Regions from separate parts of the Homo sapiens genome. Here region 2 is linked to region 1. The links are contacts of gene promoters, found by promoter capture Hi-C in human tissues and cell types (Jung and others, 2019). All regions are on one chromosome and are shown on one strand. The core of a region is centred on a gene start or on the middle of the fragment in contact, and the rest is flanking DNA. Distances in the headings are between cores, read along the strand shown.

Region 1 (4,076 bases), core at 732-3,231:
AAAGTGGCCTTAGAATGAAAACTATGTTACTGGCACCTTGATCTTGGAATTCCCAGGCTCTAGAATCATGAGCAATACATTTATGTTGTTTAAGCCCCCACGGCCGGGCGCAGTGGTTCACGCCTGTAATCCCAGCACTTTGGGAGGCCGAGGCGGGCGGACCATGAGGTCAAGAGATCAAGACCATCCTGGCCAACAAGGTGAAACCGCGTCTCCACTAAAAATACAAAAAAAAAAAAAAAATTAGCCGGGTGTGATGGCGCGCACCTGTAAATCCCTGCTACTCAGGAGGCTGAGGCAGGAGAATAGCTTGAACCCGGGAGGTGGAGGTTGCAGTGAGCCGAGATCACGCCACCGCACTCCAGCCTGGAGACAGAGCAAGACTCTGTCTCAGAAAAAAAAAAAGAAAGCCCCTTCGGCTGTGGTTTTTGTTTATGGCAGCCCAAGCGGACTCCTACAGGGACACAGACCCAGACCCTGATGCTGGAGGGGAGACAAGAGGATGTAAATCAAACCTCCTCAAGTCCCTGTCAAAGGACAACTATGGGCTGGCCTCGGTGGCACATGCCTATAACCCCAGCACTTTGGGAGACTACAGCAAGAGGATCTCTTGAGCCCAGGAGTTCGAGAACAAGTTGGGCATCATTGCAAGACCCCATCTCTGGAAAAAAAAATTGCTAGGTGCTGTGGCATGCACCTGTGGTCCCAACTACTTGGGAAGCTGAGGTGGCAGGATCACTTGAGCCCAGAGGTCAAGGACGCAGGGAGTTGTGATTGTACCACTGCACTCCAGCCTGGGTGACAGAGCAAGACCCTGTCTCTCTCTCCCTTTTTATTTTTTTTTGAGACAGAATCTCACTGCGTCGCCCAGGCTGGAGTGCAGTGGCATAATCTCGGCTCACTGCAACTTCCACCTCCCGGGTTCAAGCAATTCCTGTGCCTCAGCCTCCCGAGTAGCTGAGATTGCAGGCGCCCACCATCAGGCCTGGCTAATTTTTGTATTTTTAGTAGAGACGAGGTTTCACCATGTTGGCCAGGCTCGTCTCAAACCCCTGACCTCAAATGAGCCACCCATCTCGGCTTCCCAAAATGCAGGGATTACAGGCATGAGCCACCATGCTTGGCCAAGACCCTGTCTCTTTAAAAAAAAAAAGAAAGAAAAACAAAAAAAAAAAAAAGGAAAAAAGTACAACTATGGCAGGGCTGCAAAGGAGGCAGGAGGAGGTGGCAGAGCAGAAGGCTGAGGGATAAGAGGAGTTCACTATGCAGAGAGGGACTTGAGAGACTTCTAGGCAGCGAACACTGTGTATGAGCCCAAGAGGGAACTACAGGGCCCTGGACCATCCGGGCCCCGGTCCTCCACGGGCCTCGAGAGAAGGGGAGTTCCTGTCCCCTGACCCCAGCATCTTGCTCTGTCTCGGCCACCCCAAACCAAAGACTGCACTGGTCCCCAAGGTCAAGTCTCCCCCTGCCTCTGGTCAAGTAAGGAGTGCCACCAACTTTGAACCAGTCCCTTTCCACCTCCAGCTGCTCCAGACCCCGGATCTGGAAGGGGGCTGGCCATGCTGGGGTCTCTGGGTGGAGCTGTCTGGCCAGGACTTCCGTCTGAGATGGGATTTCTGGACAGAACAATGGAGCGCAGAAGCTCCAGCAACGTGTGCTCTGCAGGGAGCCCAGGTCAGGTTTGGAGAGGAGTTGCCCCGGATCCTGCAGAGCTTCCCCACCTGACTGCCACCCCTCCCAGCACCTACCCGCACCACTGCTCTCCGCCAGCCCCCACTTCTAGTACCTTGGCGCAAGGCAGGCTTCCTTTGAGAAACCCATTGACCCTTTCCTGCCACCTCTGAAGCTCTGCTCAAAGCATCTTTGTTTGAGGCTGGTCCGGTAAAGCCACAGCCCCGCCCCGGCCCTGTTCATTACTCCTTGGCTGAGCCTCGCGCTCTCCTGGCACTTTAAGCCCCCAGGCCCTCCCTCAACCCCAGTCAGCAGAAGGCGCCAGGCTGTGAGGGTGAGAGCAAGCCAGGGGCTGTGGGGGCTGCAGGGGCAGCCAGTGGGTGAGGATGAGGGTGAGGACGAGGAGGGGTGAAGGATGGGGGAGGGGGTGAGGATGAGGGAAGTGGTGAAGATGAGGGAGGGGAGTGAGGAGGAAGGGGGTGAGGATAGAGGAGGGGGTGAGGATGAGGGAGGGGGTGACGATGGGGGGGTGAAGGATGGAGGAGGGGTGATGAGAGAGGAGTGAGGATGAGGGAGGGGGTGAAGGATGAGGGAGGGGGTGAGGATGAGACAGGGGTGAGGATGAGGGAGGGGGTGAGGATGAGGGAGGGGAGTGAGGAGGAGGGGGCTGAGGATGGAGGAGGGGGTGAGGATAGAGGAGGGGTGAGGATGAGGGAGGGGTGAGGATGAGAGAGGGGTGAGGATGAGAGGTGAGGATGAGGGAGGGGGTGAGGATGAGGGAGGGGAGTGAGGAGGAGCAGGGGTGACGATGGAGGACGGGGTGAGGATAGAGGAGGAGGTGAGGATGAGGGAGGGGGTGAGGATGAGAGAGGGATGAGGATGAGGGAAGGGGTGAGGATAAGGGAGGGGAGTGAGGAGGAGGGGGGTGAGGATGGAGGAGGGAGTGAGGATGAGGGAGGGGGTGAGGATGAGGGAGGGGGTGAGGATGGGGGAGGGGGATGAGGGAGGGAGTGAGGATGACCGAGGGGGGTTAGGCTCCAGGGCTTCTGTCGAGACCAAGGATGCCCAAATATCTGGGTGGTGGGTGCTGCATACCTGGGCCCTGGGCAGAACGAAGGGTATACAGCCTGGGCCACCAGGATAAGTCCAGAACCCACCAGGAGCTGAGGACAGACAGAAGGACCACGGAGGGGGTGACGGGCTGGTGTGAGGATTGGTGCCCCTGGGCCAGGACTCTCCTCTCTTCTCCCTGCTGGCTCCAGACCAGAGTCCAAGCCCTAGGCAGTGCCACCCTTACCCAGCCCAGCCTTGAAGACAGAATGAGAGGGGTTTCCTGTCTCCAGGTCCTGCTCCTTCTGGTGCTGGGTGAGTGGGGACAGGGACTGGGGGTGAGGGCCGCAGACACCTTGGCTCCCAGTTCTCCCATCTCACTGCTCCCTGGGCCGGGCTCCCTGGAGCACTCTTGGGCTTTCTAATCTTGATTCCAAGGGCTCAATCCTCTCTGCCACTGACCTTGACCTCACCACACCTCGATGTGCTTGTCGGTGTCATGCTCATACGCCCTTGCCCCCTGCACCTTCACAGTGCTCTGGGGAGGGTTAAATAAGATAACAGACGGCACGAAAGCCTGGCGCAATGTCAGGGCAACATTGTTTCACCCTCCTTCCTCATCTCTGGCCTCCCCTCCAACTCCGTTATTTGACACCAAATCTATAATCTGGTCCCTTCCCTGCTTCCTCCTCCAGGAGCTGCTGGGACTCAGGGAAGGAAGTCTGCAGGTGAGGAAGCCTCGGAGTCCACCCGAGTCAGCCCCTCCTGGACCTCGGCCCCGTGTCTCCCCACCAACACCTGCCTCCCAGGCCCCAGGTCCTCAGCCAACCCTCACCGCCCCTGGTCCTTTTCTAGCCTGCGGGCAGCCCCGCATGTCCAGTCGGATCGTTGGGGGCCGGGATGGCCGGGACGGAGAGTGGCCGTGGCAGGCGAGCATCCAGCATCGTGGGGCACACGTGTGCGGGGGGTCGCTCATCGCCCCCCAGTGGGTGCTGACAGCGGCGCACTGCTTCCCCAGGTCAGCGCTCACCGAGGGCCCAGGCGGGGTGTGCAAGGAAGGCAAGGCCCGCAGAGGACCGGGCGTGGCCTGGCAGAGGCGTTGGGGTCGAGGCGGGCTGGAGGGGGTCGAGGACCCGGTGCTGGAAGTAGTCCCCCGCTCCTGTCCTGCAGGAGGGCACTGCCAGCTGAGTACCGCGTGCGCCTGGGGGCGCTGCGTCTGGGCTCCACCTCGCCCCGCACGCTCTCGGTGCCCGTGCGACGGGTGCTGCTGCCCCCGGACTACTCCGAGGACGGGGCCCGCGGCGACCTGGCACTGCTGCAGCTGCGTCGCCCGGTGCCCCTGAGCGCTCGCG
Region 2 (4,116 bases), core at 191-2,690, 110 kb after region 1:
GTTGGCATCTCAAACCCTCATTTCCACCCACAAGGCTGCCTTAGCAGTAACTCCAGATTCTCACTTCCTGATCACGGTCATGCCATGCTGAGAATGGTCTCAGTCAGGCTTCTCAAACTTGAAGAGGGATCCGAACCTTTCTGGGAAGCCTCCTGCATGGCAAATGTTGGCTGCCAAGGCACAAAGCCAAGCGCAGTCATGTAAGCTCAACTGAAAGACCCCGCAAAGTTAGTATAAGGCTTGTGAACTGCCTTGAATAAATATAGGTAACAACTTCTTCAAACAGGCTTTTTTGTGAGTTTCAATCCTGCACAACTCCCAAGACACGGTTCCTCGGCTCCACAACTCTTGATAAATAAAGGTAGCAAAAGGTTTCTATTACCATCTACCCAACAGCATGAGCATTTCGCTTGATGAAAGACAAGCTGCAAACTAACCTGGAAATTCCTGTCCTTTTGCGAAGACAGTGGGAAAACTAAGCCAATTAGAAAGCAGATTGAAAGATTCCTTACCTGACCCTTCCTGGACATCCCTAAAGCAACCCTTAATATGAGCAAAATCCCCTTCGAAAAATCATACTATATACTACGGACGCATCTTCTAAGAGGTGCTGAGTGGGTGCTGCGTGCTGTGGATGGAAAGGATGGAGCGCCAACTCTCTAAATGCAAGTCACCAGGGAAAAAAAGGGCCGCCCATATCAACCCCCACGTCAGCGTTAATTCAAACGTCCAGAATGTGAAACAACGCCAAGGGTTCTGTTTCCAGAGCCAGCAAGTACCCTGGGACAGAGAAGAGAAGGCGTTCACACACCCTGGGCAAAAGAACCTAGTGAGAAAAAGAAAGTAGAATCACAGCAAAGTCCGGGGTCTAGGAAGCCTCCTCCACCAAAGAGCAAAGAGGGCGAGGAAGAGACACCCCCAAGGTGAATCGACTCAGGATCCTCAAAGGCAGTGGACGCCAGGGCGCCATCCTCACCCTCCCCTCCCAGGGTAGGGGATCGGGGCAAGCTGGGGAGGAGCTGGCGACAAGGGAGCGCGGGGCTCGAAGCCCGAGGAGAGTCGCCCGCTCCCGCTGAAGTCTCCTCCGCACGAAGCAGGGCGTGTGCAGGAGCCGCAGGCCGGGAAGGCCAGGACCCTCCGGGCTGGCCCGTGAGGCCCTCACCTTGTCTGAGTCCAGGTCGGGATCGGCCTGGCATAAGCGGTACAGGAAGGATTTCGGGTCCCGGCACAGGGTCTGCCGAGTGGTGAGGAAGTAGGTGCCGCCGACGTTGAGTCGGACCCACTTGGACACGCTGCCAGGGCGCTGGGCCAGGGCGCCGAGCCCAGCGCTGCAGCGGCGGCACAGGCCGCCCCCCAGCCCCGCCCCGATGCCGCCCCGGGCCGGCGACAGGAGCTCGCAGTGATTCTCCGCCATGATCCCAGCAAGCCCCGCAACAGCTCCCTTCCACCGGAAGCGTCCGGCTTTTAATAGCGTCCTCTGAGTTCTGTCCCGCCCACAGGTCCGCCCTGGTAGAGCGCCCGCCCCGGCGTCACGCGGTAGGCGGAAGTTCCGGTCCCGAAAAGCAGGAGGCTGGGCCCGCTTCCGGCGGGAGCGGAGCACGGGGTGATCTGGGCACTAACGCTGATGGGGAGCAGCGGACATCAGCCTCGACCTCCCACGAGCGGTGCACGAGCGCCTGACCCAGACCTCGACCCTAGCCTTCACCCCCACCCTGACTCCAGTTCATGAACTGGTCAAAGGAAGAGCCATGCCAGCAAACGTCTACACTGTACATGCTTTTTATTACAAGACTACGGAGCATAGGAGGAAAATTCATCATCTGGTAACTACACCTAAAGCACAAATATTTGGGGGGAAAAAAAGAACAGATTCATTAAATTATATGATTAAATCATTGACCCAATAGAAAATTTATATAATAAGGGCGGGGCCTGGTGGCTCACGCCTGTAATCCCAGCACTTTGGGAGGCCGAGGCGGGAGGATCAGGCGGTCAGGAGATCGAGACCACGCTGGCCAACATGGTGAGGCCCGGTCTCCACTGAAAATACAAAAATTAGCCTGGCGCGGTGGTGGGCGCCGGTAATCCAAGCTACTCGGGAGGCTGCGGCAGGAGAATGGCGTGAACCCGGGAGGCAGAGGTTGCAGTGAGCTGAGATCTCGCCACTGCACTCCAGCCTGGTGATAGGGCGAGAGTCTGTCTCAAAAAAAAAAAAAGAAAGTTTTTGTAATAAAGCCAGAAAAAAGTTGTAAAATATATAGTAATTATTCACATTCAAGGCTGTATATCAATACATATAACAACGTGGCCCCGAACATGAATTCAATACAAATAATTCATATATTAGAATTTAGGCCGGGCGCGGTGGCTCATGTCTGTAATCCCAACACTTTGGGAGGCCAAGGTGGGTGGATCACGAGGTCAGGAGTTCAACATCAGCCTGGCCAAGATGGTGAATCTCCGTCTCTACCAAAAATACAAAAAATTAGCCAGATGTGGTTGTGGGCGCTCGTAATCCCAGCTACTCGGAGGCTGAGGCAGAGAATTGCTTAAACCCAGGAGGCGGAGGTTGCAGTTAGCCGAGATCAGGCCACTGCACTCTAGCCTGGGCGACAGAGTGAGACTCCGTCTCAAGAAAAAAAAAGAATTTAAATAACAGGCTGAACTAGAGGCCAACAATAGCCAGCAAATAACCTTCTATAAGATTAAAAACACAAAAGTGTATATCCTAATACCATTGTATTATTTGTTTTCATGAGTTCTTTTAATTTTTGCTTTGTCTGTACATCACAGTTACAGCTACAGACCAGGTAGAGAATATTACGCATGTTCTGACTGCCACCCACCTGAAAGACGTACTAGTCATTTATCCTATTTCATGTTGTGAAGGAACAGCTACAGCAGCTCTAAATACTGTAACAATTTAATTTTGCCAACATCCAACTTAACAGTCGTAATAGAGGCTTTTACCAGCACAATGACCCCTATTCGTAGTCATTCTGCCAGACGGTTAGGCTATGTGGGTTACACAGCTTAAAAAAGGTCTGCCTTTTGTAAAAAGTTCTCTGTACATAGTTTGGTGTTTCTTCATATGGAAGAAATGAGTTATGGGGAAAATTCAGGTACACACGTAGGCTCGTTCAGTTGCTCACCACAGCCATCTCAACAGATGAAAGTGCTCTTTGTTGGAAACAGCTTCCTCCTCACACCAGTTCTCCACAGGCAGCCTCATCTACAACCCTGCAATTTTGGGCCAGAAGTGGTGGCCCCTCAGAGGCTCTGAAGTGCCTCCAGCCCCGATTCAGGCACTTGCCACGTGTGCTGCGTAAGAAGGGACCCCACCCAGTGAGTCAACATAGGCTCATGTCAAGTTTGAAAATAACTGGGGAAAAGTGTATGACAACATCTTCCAGAACATAGTACCTTCACCGTATTCTCACAGCAGCTGCGATCTCTGAAGTCTCAGCAGTGAGCACCCCGGGTCTGTCAACCAGCCAGGCAAGGGGGGGCCCTCAGGCTTCAGAGGGCAAGAAACCAAATTCCGTGCAATTTGGCCATAATCTCTGGTAGAGTGAAGCAGCACTGAACGCAGTGCCTAGAAAAACCTCCTGCACGTTCCCCTGCACAATCAATGGACCCCAACTACAGTGGAGAAATGAAGAATCCAACCAAATTTGGGTGGTCTGGACTTGCTGCCAGCCAGGCAATCTGCAACACTGTGGGCAGGGAGATGGGGGGAGGCGGCCTGAAATCTACACCAGCTGGGACAACCACGCCCTACAATGAAAAAGCCAGCCTGGCTGCTGGGCTCTTGTGAACCACTAAGACCTGAAGGTGGGGGGGTGGAAGGGGGAGACAAATGCACTCTTGTAAAACCCAATCAGCTACGTGGTTTTTTTCAAGTAGAGGCTTTGCTCTGCTACTGACTCCAAATGGCCTAATGTACTTTCTGAGTCTATAAACTTAATTACAGATCACTCACTAAGCATGTGGCAAGGTCAGTTCAACACTTGTTATCTCTGCTGACTGCGCAGTTGCAAATTCAATACCATTGTGGACATGAAGTACAAGATTCTGAAAATATCGCCAAGCGCTTGAAAGCCACGGCAGCAGGGA

The links. Contacts are between HindIII fragments. The study calls those that stand out against the background at their distance.
Region 2: a contact is called between the fragment with the promoter of KCTD5 here and the fragment with the promoter of PRSS33 in region 1, in 1 of the 25 tissues and cell types used here (adrenal gland).

Annotation. Positions count from the first base shown.
Region 1 is chr16:2,785,465-2,789,540 of GRCh38, reverse strand. It overlaps PRSS33 (serine protease 33), which reads left to right and starts at 1,981. Exons shown (of 7, transcript NM_152891.3): 1 at 1,981-2,008; 2 at 2,937-3,039; 3 at 3,420-3,452; 4 at 3,580-3,742; 5 at 3,895-4,076. The coding sequence starts at 2,994. The HindIII fragment of the contact is 27,852 bases long and covers 1-4,076 here.
Region 2 is chr16:2,679,847-2,683,962 of GRCh38, reverse strand. KCTD5 (potassium channel tetramerization domain containing 5) reads right to left here and starts at 1,440. Exons shown (of 6, transcript NM_018992.4): 1 at 1,163-1,440. The coding sequence starts at 1,414. RefSeq lists enhancers at 758-807, 878-927, 472-1,082 and a silencer at 1,178-1,357. The HindIII fragment of the contact is 14,940 bases long and covers 1-4,116 here.